Linked DNA regions of Homo sapiens: regions 1 and 2 are each linked to region 3. Evidence: promoter capture Hi-C in human tissues and cell types (Jung and others, 2019). All regions are on one chromosome and are shown on one strand. The core of a region is centred on a gene start or on the middle of the fragment in contact, and the rest is flanking DNA. Distances in the headings are between cores, read along the strand shown. Region 1 overlaps SLC26A4 (solute carrier family 26 member 4). Region 2 has its middle 13 kb from the start of DLD. Region 3 holds the start of HBP1 (HMG-box transcription factor 1).

Region 1 (4,119 bases), core at 1-2,500, 530 kb before region 3:
CACAGTCAACAGTCCAAATATAAGGCCAGCTAGTAAACCGAGATCCAGCCCCAGAATGATGGACACTATACACGTAAACACCCAGATAACCTAGGGAAAAAAATAGAAATGAAAAGAATTATATTAATGTATCAGGTACCATCATGTGATAACTACCTATAAAAATAAGATCAATGATCCACAAACAAATTACATTTTTTTTTTTCTTTTGAGATAGGGTCACACTCTATTGCCCAGGCTGGAGTGCAGTGGCACCATGATAGTTCACTGCAGCCTCCATCTTCTGGATTCAAGTGATCCTCCCGCCTCAGCCTCCCAAGTAGCTGGGACTACCCACAAGTACATACCACCAAACCCGGCTAATTTTTAATCTTTTATTTGTAGTAGAGACAAGGTCTCACTGTGTTACGCAGGCTGGTCTCAAATTCCTGAGCTCAAGTGATCCTCCTGCCTCCCAAATTGCTGGGATTACAGGCCTGAGCCACTGTGCCTGGCCAAATCACAGCTTTTTAAAAATATTGTGACTTCATTCATTTTATATTTAAGTAGCTGTAGAAACTGGGCTTCTCAATTAAGACCAACTGTCCCATTTTATTTATTTCTAAATTTTTGAATAGCTAATATATTTGTATGGTTCATAAGGGAATTATCATTAAAAAGGGGAAAACTCTTGCTCACAACCCTCCCCCTTCTCCACCCATTCCCAACTTCCCTCCCTCCTTGTATCCGCTTTTATTTCTGCCTGTGTCTGTGCTTTTCCCCAGCATTTCTATTCTGGTCTCTTTTTCACTTAACGATTTGTCTTGGAAAATTTTCCATATCAATATGTAGGAAGTCTTCTCATTCTTTTTATGGTTTAAATTAGAGAGGAACTCTGAAGGATTTAGCTTCTGATTTTTAGTTTCTCAGAATAGTTGCAAAGGTTATGTTAGTCAGAGTTAAAGTCAGCGTGGGTTTTTACATTTTGTATTTTGTTTTTGCATTGTTTTGTATGTTGTTTGTCCTTCTAAACTAGGGTGTTTAAACATTTTTTTGCTTTTTGTGTTTAGAAGGCCAAAGGTGTATGAATGAGCCTCATATGGGATTCTTGCTGGAAATTGACCTTCCCAGAGATACAGAATCTTCACAAAATGCAGTTCACATGGAAGACTTCATGGCTTTGATTTATCCCCACAATTCTAATTTCTCCTCTGGAGTTCCCAAAGCACAAGTGAGACTTAGGGGATGGGGGGAATATAGTGATATGGCAGGAAGCATATAAGAACCAAATCTTATTTCAGATAAATATAGGTGGTAGGTGACTTACAGCATCAATCTTATTCTGTCTCCACAGACGAGGAATGTCACACAGCTGCATAAACATCCCTTTCAGGTTGGCAATTACAACAGCTGCCAAGACCGACTGCCAAGAGAGACAGAGAAGGCTGTGTTATTCAGGGAATGGTTTTCCATGTGATGATTGTTAAATCTCCTGTTATTTATCTGGTAGCAGAGTAGTGAAGGGAAATTATGCAATCGGTATGCAGAGAAGCAGGGTTATACCTTCTGCAAGGGTTCCAGAAGCTTCCCCAGGGCAAGAATGGCGATCATCACAATCGCAGCAGAGATGATGCCAGCAACCTGGAAGACACACACCTCCTATGAAAAGGATTCGTCCTTCTCCCTTGTGTCTTCCAGCTCACTGGATGTGTGTATGAGACAGCCTGTTCACAGACACACTTCATACTTCCCTGTCTCCCCCTTCTGCTCAATACTGTCGAGAAAAGTGATAGTTATTTGCTCAAGCCACAAAACTGAACAAAAATGGCATCTATATATGCTATGGCAGAGAAGTTAAAGAAAATATGGGGACTGATCCTATGAAATTAAAGCCAGTTTGACAGGGATTTTATTTGGTGATAGTACACACCTGCGGTTTCGGCGTCCATTCAGGCCAAGCTTCTAGTTATTTACCATGGCAGGAAACATGGACCAATCCCCCCTTTCCCAACAACAGAGATCATTGTCGTATTCTTGGGAAATAAATTCTCATGGCACATAGCTGATTTTTCTGCATTATTGAAGCTGCAGCTATAATAGCAACTCTGATAACACTTCGTACTTGTAGCACATGGTCTCATTAAAGTCTCAGAGAAAATAAATTTACTCATCCTATTGCAAATTCGAAATGCCACATTTGCACATTGAGAGGTGGGATTGTGTCTCCTGCCTCCTCTGACAGTTCCACGGAGGCAGGCTCAGAGCTTTGCCCCAAGGCAGCCTGAAACAGTGACTATGGAGTAACGGGGCAATAGCAGGGGTAAAAGGAAGCTTCAGAAACTTTACCTTCGCTGGCAAAAATAGCTCTCCTAAGATCCATACTAGTTAGGAGAGAGGCTGAGGGGGTGGGGACTACTCTCTCGTTTGATTAGATGACCAATGAATTCTCTGTTGAGACAGCTGGGGCAGAGCCAAGATGAAGATTAGAAGCTCTGAAACAAAGAAGAAAAGGAGACAGGGAACTACAAGCAAAGCAATCAGAGAGGAAACAACTGGGAAGATTTTGTTGAGCACAAGTACTGTCTAGTGCAAAAGGTCTGAGTTACGGGAGACAGACACAGCAAATATAAACAGAAAATTAGAAAGCACTTGCTCTACCTGGCAAATTGATCATTTATATTTAGATTATAGTTGGGTCAGCCTGAGGCAATATGATGTGTATGAGGTACTAAAAAGCGTGCTTTGTATGTCTGGCTGGCTTTTCTATGCTCTTCCTATCCCCATCCTAGATTCCCAGTACCCTGGTGCTCTTTCCCTTCTCCTGACTAAGCAGAGAAGCTGATATCCTACTTCCCTCCCTTCTCTTCGCTTTCCTTCATATCCCTTCCCTTCCTCTCCCTTGTCCTTCCTTCCATTTTCTTCTTTCTTTCCTTCCCTTATCCCTCCCTTCCTTCCTTGCATGCAATTACTCAACCAGTATTTACCGAGCCACTTGCATCTCACTGTGGATGGGGAGCTCTGTGAACTGGAGAAAGATATGGAGATTTGGGGACAAGGACCACAGTCAGCTGCCAAACTCATGCCAGGAGAGTGGCCACCTACTTGCCAATTATATGTCATAATGAGTCTCCAATTATGGGAGGCCAAGGCTCATTTTGGCCACTATATTAAAATTGGTGAGTGATCAATTATTTCTACTTACTTGATAAGGCTTGTTTGTGAGAAACTCTGTAGACTTTATATCTACAACCAGATTCAGTTACTAAAAAATTATTCTGTTAAGGGAGGGGGTAATCAGAGCTAAAGAGTGGTTTGTAATCAGAATTACTTTTCTGTGAGTCAGTGGAAGTCAGATGGGGGTGAGGGAAAGAAAAGGTTCCAATGTTTAATTCTTCTACAATCTGTAGATGTGCTAAAAACAGTTCGTGTCCACCAATACTCATTCTTCCATTCATTCATTCAGCAAATATATGCCAGGTGCTTCTTATGTGCCAGGCACAATATATGTATCATAGATGCTAAGATGCTATTCTTGCCTAAAGGAGTGAAACAATGAGCATTTACAAGTATGTGCTAAGGCTTTACATTTTCTTGCCTAATCCTCACAATATCCCTGTGAAATGGATGCAATTATCATTTCCATTTTGTAGATGCTGAAACTGAAGTTCCAACATAAGAGAAAACACGAGAAGCCACACAAGAGAAGCCCTGCCAGTTTATTTGTCCATCAGTCCCTGGATTTCAGTTCAGGCACTTAGACTTTTAACCCCAGAATTTAGTATACATTTCAATAATTAAACATGAAGCCATTTCTTTACTCGTTTCATTCTTTAATGCTGAAATCCTGGCATCCTTCATTCCTAAATATAATACATGCCAGTATGTGGCAGGGGGTATTAGCTTACCAGAGCACCATTATCCCCCAAACCCTGTGCCAAGGAGGTCACTTTACATGGGCATACTTACTGGGACAGCCAGCCCATGCCTCATTTGAGCCTGGAGGTAACATCAGGAGAATGGACATCAGCAGTTTGAGATTTGCCTGCACCCGCTGAAGACCATGTGCTCTGGAGAGCTTGTCAGTGCTCCGTCTCAAATGAAAGCAGCAGAAGTTCCTGCTGCTGACAGCTGCAGCCTGAA
Region 2 (4,457 bases), core at 1,618-4,117, 710 kb before region 3:
ATTTTTCTCAGGCTATTTGCAACCCAGAATTCTGACTGGTACACTACCATTTATTGAAAAGCCACCACATACCAGACACTTTAAGTGAAGTATTATTAGAAGTCTCATTTTCCTATTTTTTATTAGAAAGTCCTATTTTATTATTAGAATTATTAGTCCTATTTTATTATTAGAAGTCTCATTTGCCTATTTTATAGGCAAGGAAACAGAAGCCCAGAGAATTTAAATAGCATATCTAAGGTCACGTAGCCAGAAGTCCACTTAATCTGCCCCAATCTTTCCTCAGTTATATACTACATCACCAGACACAGTACTAATTGGCAGAGAATAGTGTCCCTGACTCTTCCTTTTTACTACCTCATATTCTTATTGTGGAAGACTTCATCCCTGGCATTCCCCTGTCCTGATTATGTAACCCAGGTTTCCTGGAATTGAATTCTCCCCTTCATTATGGAAAAAATCAGCCCAAATGGATTTCAGAGTTATTGCCATACAACTCACAGCTCTGGGTTTTGTTTAGGGAATAACTGTAATTCACTTCCTAATCATCTTTTTCCTGAGAAATTTCATTTTCTTAGATGGTGCTTAAACAACAACAAAATTGTGTCAAAATGCTAATCTAATTAATTGTGGTTGATTGAGTAGATAATAATGAGTCATAGTGTTAACAGTATCTAAGTGAGCAGAGTTTTAGAATCAAAAGGCACCAGCACCTTCTGCCCAGAAGAGGGCAACGTTCTCTCATTATGCTATCTGCAAAAGCTGGGAACTCCAAAAAGGAAATGTATATACTGTGGTAGGAACCGAAGGATTTACCATTAACGCTTCAAAATGATTCTAAATACAAAGTTATTAGGCCATGATGTGCCATACTCAATAATCAACAATTACCAAGTGTTTGTTGAGTGTTTGTTGGATATAAAATATTGCACAGGACACTGAAGGAAACACAAAAAAGTTATCAGCACATCTCCCTGATTTTATAAAGCTCATGATTTAGTTGAGGATATCAGGCATCTATGCAAGCAGTAAAGAAATATCGGCCAGGCATGGTGGCTCACATCTGTAATCCCAGCACTTTGGGAGGCCAAGGCGGGTGGATCACGATGTCAGGGGTTCAAGACCAGCCTGACCAACATGGTGAAACCCCATCTCTATTAAAAATACAAAAATTAGCTGGGCATGGTGGCATGCACCTGTAATCCCACCTACTCAGGAGGCTGAGGTAGGAGAATCGCTTGAACCCAGGAAGCAGAGGTTGCAGTGAACCAAGATCATGCCACTGCACTCCAGTGTGGGTGACAGAGCAAGACTTGGTCTCAAAAAAAAAAAAAAAAGAAAAGAAAAGAAAAGAAATATCAGACAACATGCCATCCTGGGCTGGATTTCCGTTCACACACGCCCCTTTCCACCTTTCTCCTCAAACCAGCAGTAGACATATGACTCACTCCTTTGCCTCCTTGAAGTCCTTATTCAAAAGTTACTTTCTCAGTGAAATCTGTCCTTACCACTCTAATGAAAATCGCAACACAACCCATTTCTGCCCTGCACTGTCATTCTCCTTGACCTGGCTTTTTTTTTTCCACAGCATTTATCATCTTCTAACATTCTATATAATTACTTTGTTGTGTTTGTTTTATAACATTTTCTCCTGCCAGTAGAATCTAAGCTACACAAGTACTAAGATTTCCATCTGTTTTGTTCAGATACATCCCCGGAGCCTGGAACAATGCCTTGCATGTAATAGGGACTCAAAAAAAATTGTTCAATGAATGAAAGTCAGTAGGAAAGATAAGTGCTGCAGGAATTTGGAGGTGGGGAGATGGTAAGTAAGGGGCCAGGGACCTGGGGGATGTCTTTGTGCAAGACGTAATTACTGAAATTGGATTTTGAAAGGTGGGTAGGATTTTGATAGAGGGAGATGAAAAGTCAGGGAGAATGTGACTCCTGAGGCCTAGAGACATCTGGGCAAAGAGGAATAAAGGACAAAGGCATAATAATTTACCAAGTAGTACAGGGAAAAGGGTATGGGCTTTAGGGTAATGCCTAGGGGTTTGAATCTCATTGTGCAATTCCTTTGTGCCCTTGGACAAATTTGCTGACCTCTCAATTATTTCCTCCCCTGTGAAATTGAGATAATACTTTCATCGAAGACTGTTGGGACAATTAGAGAAAACTTGTAAATAATCCACCTGGTTCACAGTATGTCCTTAAAAAGGTAAATTATTATACTGCTATAACCCACTGAACACTTATCAAGCAGGTTTGTTGAATTAACTTTTTTTTTTTAGCCCGGTCTCATGCCCATTGCCCAGGCTGAAGTACAGTGGTGTAATCACAGCTCACTGCAGCCTTGACATCCCAGGCCCACGTGATTCTCCCACCTCAGCCTCTCGAGTAGCTGGTAGCTGAGACTACAGGTATGCACCAATGTGCCCAGCTAATTTTTTGTATTTTTAGTAGAGACTGGGTTTCACCATGTTGCCCGGATTGGTCTCAAACTCCTGGGCTCAAGCTATCTGCCTGCTTCAGCCTCCCAAAAGAATTCACTTTCAGAGTACATTTTGAGTCACTTGAGTCTCTACAGGTATTCTATAGTGAATCTTCCATAAAATGGATTAAAGTAGTTGCCATGAAATATGAGTCTTTAATGAGCTCTAAGAGCAAGTATTAATTGCACTTTACATTTTATAGAATTCTGTCACAGACATTACCAGTACTGGTCTACATAGTAGTAATCCTGACATCGATATTATTATTATCATTACTTCTGATAATAAAGCATGAAACTACTGCTTTAATATGATTGAGTTGCTGGTCGAAGCTTACAAGTCTGACAAGTGATTAAGACAGAACTCATATTCAGAATTTCTGATCCCAAGTCCCTCACTCTTTTTATAAAATGACTCTCTGCCTCTAACCATTTTTACGGGACTTGAACCAACACAATTATACTGTTGATCTGTTCAATCAATTGAAAAAAATCTAAATGCCTCTGAAACCCATAGATGCCTTCTCGCTTCCTTTCTCTCTCTAACTGAGACTGAGATAAGAGGAACGGGAGAACTGGAGTGTATCTCTTAAAGGCCACTTTCTGCCAGCTTATGAAGGATTTCCTCTCCATGGTCTTTGTTCTCACAGAATTTAAACCCCTTCAGGTGGAAATGGTACTTGAGGGAAAATACTTATCTCTTTCAACACATTTCATTTAATATTTCAAGTTAAGAAAGAATTAAGAAACAAAACAAGAAGTGAAATGACCCAAACACTCAAGATCTGTGAATAAATCCACATTGAAGTGGAAAAGTTATTGCTATATCCAAGGATTAAAAGAGCATGAAATAATGTAGGAGAAAATTGTGGTAGGGCATTAGAAAATCTATTAGGCAGAGAGGAACTGGAGTTTGCTCTTCACATGACAGGGTATAAAGAGGTACATACGGGCGGGTTTAAGAATGAACTAGATGTGGCCAGGCACGGTGGCTCACGCTTGTAATTCCAGTACTTTGGGAAGCTGAGGGGGGTGGATCACGAGGTCAGGAGTTCAAGACCAGCCAGGCCAACATAGTGAAACCCCGTCTCTACTAAAAATACAAAGATTAGCTGGGTGTGGTGGTATGCACCTGTAATCCCAGCTACTCGGGAGGCTGAGACAGGAGAATTGCTTGAATCCGGGAGGCAGAGGTTACAGTGAGCTGAGATTGCACCACTGCACTCCAGCCTGGGTGACAGAGCAAGACTCCATCTCAAAAAAAAAAAAAAAAAAAAAAAAAAGAATCAACTAGATGTAATGGGATTAGATGAAGTTTGAATGCAAGAGCTGTAACTACCATACAAATATAGCTATCCCTACCAATACTATTACGGATGGGTTCTCTGATATGCTATAACAAAGAACATAATTATTATCTGCCACAGATGGGATATTTCTTTGATTCCTATCCACAAACGAAGTAGGTATTTCTTATTTATTTACTTAAGTCAAGAAGATAGATGCTGAAAGACATAATCTCTACAATTCTTCCTTTCTGCATCTCTTAGAGAATTGCCAATTTTTGCTATGCCAACAGTGATACACTTCATCATGATTTTTCTGACAAAATCACCTTTAGCATGTTAAGCTAAAACGTGTTCCCATCTAATTTTTTTCTGGAGGCATGTGAAGTCAATTCTTTTAAGTTCATCTTTTAAGTTGTTCTCCCCAAGATGACAAAATTCTATCCCATGGTAGCAATTAATCAACAAATCAACATGTAGTACCCACAGTATGTCCAGCATTATACATGCTGCTGTGAAGAATATAAAAACATATTGTTCTTTTTTTTTTTAATTTTTTTTTTTTTTTTTTCTGAGATGGAGTCTTGCTCTGTCACCCAGGCTGGAGTGCAGTGATATAATCTCGGCTCACTGCAACTTCCGCCTCCTGGGTTTAAGCAATTTCCTGCCTCAGCCTCCCA
Region 3 (4,475 bases), core at 980-3,479:
TGAGAGTGGTGGCGCTCACCTGTAGTCCCAGCTACTCAGGAGGCTGAGGCAAGAGAATCGCTTGAACCCAGAAGGTGGAGGTTGCAGTGAGCCGAGATCGCACCCCTGCACTCCAGCCTGGCGACAGAGCGAGACTCCCTCTCAAAAAAAAAAAAAAATATATATATATATATATATATATATATTTATACATGTATATGTTATATATTTTATATATATACATGTATATGTTATATATTTTATATATATACATGTATGTTATATATTTTATATATATACATGTATATGTTATATATTTTATACATATACATATGTATATAGTGAAGAAAACAACTCTTACAGTGACAGTATCATGTTTGACGTCTGAGAGGTATGCCCTGTGAAGCACACAGGATAGCGGAGACATGTAGGTGGGCAATCCTGGGAGAAGGTACCCTTTTAACTAGGGTATGTAGTTAGGAGTTTGAGAAGTTAAGAAAGAGGAAGGGTTTTCGAGACAGAAAAGATAAGTAGGTTTACAAAACTAAGATGAAACTAGAAAGTGAAATCAAAACTTCATTCTATAATTTATCAGTAGAGAAAGCACAAACAATATTTTGCTTTAAAGTGGTTAAACGGCTCCTCAAAAGTATAACATAACCCAAAAACTTTAGGGAGTGGATTTAATTCTCAATATAATTCAAATTTCCTTGAAATTTTGTCAACTACTGTCTACCTTGCAAGAACTGAGTTTAACCAAGGCAACTGAACAGATGACCGACTCTACCACACTCATTTGCAAGATAAAGGAAAATAGCAAAAAAAAACCAAAAGTACAAGACATACATTGCAGATTTAGATCACTGTTAAATGACCAGAAAAGTATTTCCAATGTTAAAATTATTCTAATTCTCAAAAAGTACCTTTAATTTCAAAACCACTATTAGGAGTGCTTACGGCTATTCAGAGGGAAGTATTAATAAAGCTAAAGCCTCCATCCGAGCTGTTAGTAGGACTCCATCGCTTCCCAGTATGTATAACTCCTTTTCTAAGCCTCCTCTCGTCCTGGCATCAGTGGCACCATGAGCCAAAAACAAAACAAACAGAAAACTTGAGTATTACCTCGCTGTCAGTGCTCCTTCTAAAAACGACTGTAGCTGAAAACTCCCTAAGAATGAACTCGAGTGTAGAGTGCACAGCGGAGAGTGAAACACCCTAGACAGCACGCAGCATTTAAAGCTACAAAAACCTGGCTGTCCACTTCGCCTGGTTTGTTTTGTTTTGTTTCAATCGGCCTGCGGTGGCAGCATAGGTTGAAAGGCGGAGACTGGAATCGCCTGCCAAGCCTCCTCTTTGGGTCACACAGAGCGGTGCCTCCCGGTTCACGCCAAGTCCATCCCCCACCCTCTTTCGCCATTCATCGCGTTCCCCTCCCTTCCCCCCATCATGTGACCGCAGCCCGGACTCCGGGCTTGTTTTTCCCCTCGGCTCAGCCCCAGCGCGCAGGCGCCTGGGAGCCCATTCATTCGAACTGCGTAACAATGAGCCCCGGGGCCCAGCGGCTCCGCGAGCTCCTCAGCTCAGCCAGAATCCCCCTCAGTCCAGAAGGAGGCGGCGCCTCACTGGGGTCCCCCACCTCCGGCCAGCCCCCCACCCCTGGCCAAGCTCCGACCCTCCGCCCACAAACGGGGAGTTGAAGTCAAACTTTCCTGGGCAGCCCCGGCGCTGCGTCGGCCCCTTCCCCCGCCCTGGCCCGCCCCATCTCCACACCCGGCCCGGCCACCCACCGCGCGACCTGGCCCGGAACTTCGCCCTCCCCCTGCCTCCTCCCGGCCCCCGCCCGAGACCCCCTAGCGCCGCCGCCCCGAAGCCCAGGTGAGCTCGCGGGAGACGCTGCTCCGGTGGGCTCGCCGCGGGCACCAATCGAACGGTTAACTGCCCCCACCCCAAGGGCAACCCTCCGAGAAGAAGGAACGAGGACCCGAGCCCTCCAGTCTGCCCAATCCCCCGCGCTCCTGCCCCTCCCTTCCCCACCCCCACCTCTTCCCTAACTGAAAGACAACAAACCTGCCGCGAAGTGCCGGCAGCCCAGGCGCGGGCCGCTCCGGCCACGACAACACCACCAGCAGCTCTCGTACCCCCTCTCCGACCGACGTCGGCCTCCCCCGCGCGGGTTACTGCTCCCGCGGCAGCTCTTACTCCTCAACCGAAACTTTCCTACTTACCAAACCCGTCGCCATTACCAAGTCTTTCAAGCTTCGTCTTCCCCCTCCCCTCAACCCCCTGGGGGTTGAGCCCCGCCCAGCTCTTTCGCCCTCTTATTGGACTGCAGAACTGCCATTCGGTTCTTCCCCTTTCCCATTGGGTGGTACCGTGGTCCGTCTCGGGGGGCGGGCATGTATTGACTTTTGTGTTGTGTTTACTGGAGAAGATGGCATGTCAATCACAAGAGTAAGTGCTTCGGATTGGACTATTGCCGAGAGTCCGGGGACCCAAGCCAAACTTTGTCCCCGAAATGGATTGTGGGTTCGTAGTCTCAAGCCTTGGTCCTTGGCTGTGGGAGACTGCTGGCCGGGGAAGAGCTGGACTACGTATCCCAGAGGCGCTCGCACAGCGCAGTCTTGATAGTAAACAAGAGTCATAGGGACACGTGTATCAGCTCGTTTGTTTTGGTGTCTGGGACAAAAGGGAGGGGGCGGAGGAAGGGAGTGTTTTAAAGCTTGGGCCTCTTCTTTTCCTCCGGGCCTCTGCTAACACTTAGAGCGGCCCAAGCCTCTTGCAGCACCCAATCCGGGCCATAAACAGCCAGAGTTGCTCGCTGCTCAAGAGTTTGGCAGGAGGCCAGGGTATTGTTTTAGTGCGAGGGGAAGGAGATGACTGCACCAGCGGAAGTACTGCAGGCTAGCGAGGGACTTGATCACCCACAAATCACGGCCCCAGGCACGAAGGGGTCGAAAGTGATGCTGGGGGCTGCACTGGCAGTGGGAAGAACTAGAAGTCCTTTCTCTTGTGCCTTGCCTCACCACTCCCAGGACAGCAACTTGAGATTGCCTTGTCAGCTCTGTTCAGTTCACCTAAGTTTGTTGAGCCGCCACCTAAGTGCCAGGAAGAGTGAGGCTGGGGGATGGACTGTGAGCAAGCGAGAAGCTGGAGTCTAGAGAATTTACAAAGCGGGGGCGGGGGCGGGCGATTACGAAATTGAGGCAAGTTAAAGCGGCATTTTCCATACTGATTAGTATGCTCGTTGGTTAACGTAATACAAAGGGTGTAATGTATGACGTAAACTGATTTAATTTGTGAATCATTATCAGTAAGTTTCTCTGGTGAGTTTTATTAACCCTCTTTTCCTTCTAGACGTTTTCTCATTGATGAAAGAAACTGTCTTTCCACTTCATTTCCACTAGGAGTTCCTCAAGTTACGAATTCTCTGACTCACCAGAGACGCTTCCCTGCTTTATAGTTAACTTCTCTTTAAACATGGCTGTCCATTCACAGTCGGCTGCATCTAGTCAATAATTGGTGTCTTTACCATTCACATTACAAAGGCATGATTAAGCTTTTTCCCCCCTTTGAACCTTTAGTGTTTAATCATTTAAATTGTGCTTTAGATTTTCTAACTTTAGATCACTAAATATATGCTTAGAATTAAGATGAGGAAAACCTACATTAGTAAGAAATCTGTAAAAGCAAACCTTTGGACAGAGCCAGAAATCACACAGCTAGTTATTTCTTTAAAACCTCCTGCATTTCTTGGATTTTTAAATATACCTGAAAGCCGCGTAACAAATCAAGAAATCCAAAATAAGCCCCCACATGTTGAAATCGAGTTTAAAATTCTTGAGAATTCCCCATTTGAATCCGTGAAGTGAAATTATAAAGTAGTCCTCCCGTGTAATCAAATACTTACTTTCTATGTTCACAAATAGTAATAAAGCATTCTATTTTTTATTAAAATAATTCAGAGGAGAGCCAACAGAATGCTTAATTTTTTCCCTGAGGAAAAAGGACAGGATTTGAATTTATCATCTTTCAGAAATTATTAGTGACTCAAAGAAATGAATGTCTCTGCTACTTTGTGTATGCTTTTTTTTTTTTTTTTTTTTTTTACAATGGAGGGTCATCGTGTACTAGAATAGAAAATATAAACTCTACTCCAACATGTAATTTCTTGACAAAAAAGAAAAATCTGTGAAGTTCACCTAATTATTTAAAATTGTTTTGAGATATTTATGTCTAACTCCTCCTAGAAAACTAAAAAACTTTTCTCTTAAAAAAAAAAAAAAAAAAGAGCTGGCAAGAGATTGACATACTGCTTTACCCCTCTCCAGTACACAAACTGTGAGATCTGCTTTCAGCTAAACCTTGTTTTTAAAAGTTAAACTATTTTAAAGTTTTTACCAAATGCCTTAGTGGTGATTTTTTTTATCGGGGGACACCGGAAATGGGGAAAAAAAATTCAACTTTAGATCCAGATATTGTACAATATGTTACAAATA

Evidence for each region. The method cuts DNA at HindIII sites, captures the fragments that hold promoters and counts their contacts. A contact is called where the count stands out against the background at its distance.
Region 1: a fragment that was not itself captured here is called in contact with the fragment with the promoter of HBP1 in region 3 in 1 of the 25 tissues and cell types used here (dorsolateral prefrontal cortex).
Region 2: a contact is called between a fragment that was not itself captured here and the fragment with the promoter of HBP1 in region 3, in 1 of the 25 tissues and cell types used here (dorsolateral prefrontal cortex).

What each region holds. Positions count from the first base shown.
Region 1 is chr7:107,691,904-107,696,022 of GRCh38, reverse strand. It overlaps SLC26A4 (solute carrier family 26 member 4), which reads right to left. Exons shown (of 21, transcript NM_000441.2): 11 at 1,543-1,620; 12 at 1,307-1,402; 13 at 1-90. Among named protein-coding and RNA genes, the nearest start is that of SLC26A4-AS1, 32 kb to the right of the region's middle. The HindIII fragment of the contact is 5,968 bases long and covers 1-4,119 here.
Region 2 is chr7:107,875,829-107,880,285 of GRCh38, reverse strand. No RefSeq gene overlaps it. Among named protein-coding and RNA genes, the nearest start is that of DLD, 13 kb to the left of the region's middle. The HindIII fragment of the contact is 5,699 bases long and covers 18-4,457 here.
Region 3 is chr7:107,166,757-107,171,231 of GRCh38, reverse strand. It overlaps HBP1 (HMG-box transcription factor 1), which reads right to left and starts at 2,229. Exons shown (of 11, transcript NM_012257.4): 1 at 2,047-2,229. RefSeq lists silencers at 1,530-1,749, 2,010-2,109, 2,128-2,701 and an enhancer at 2,420-2,579. The HindIII fragment of the contact is 2,484 bases long and covers 634-3,117 here.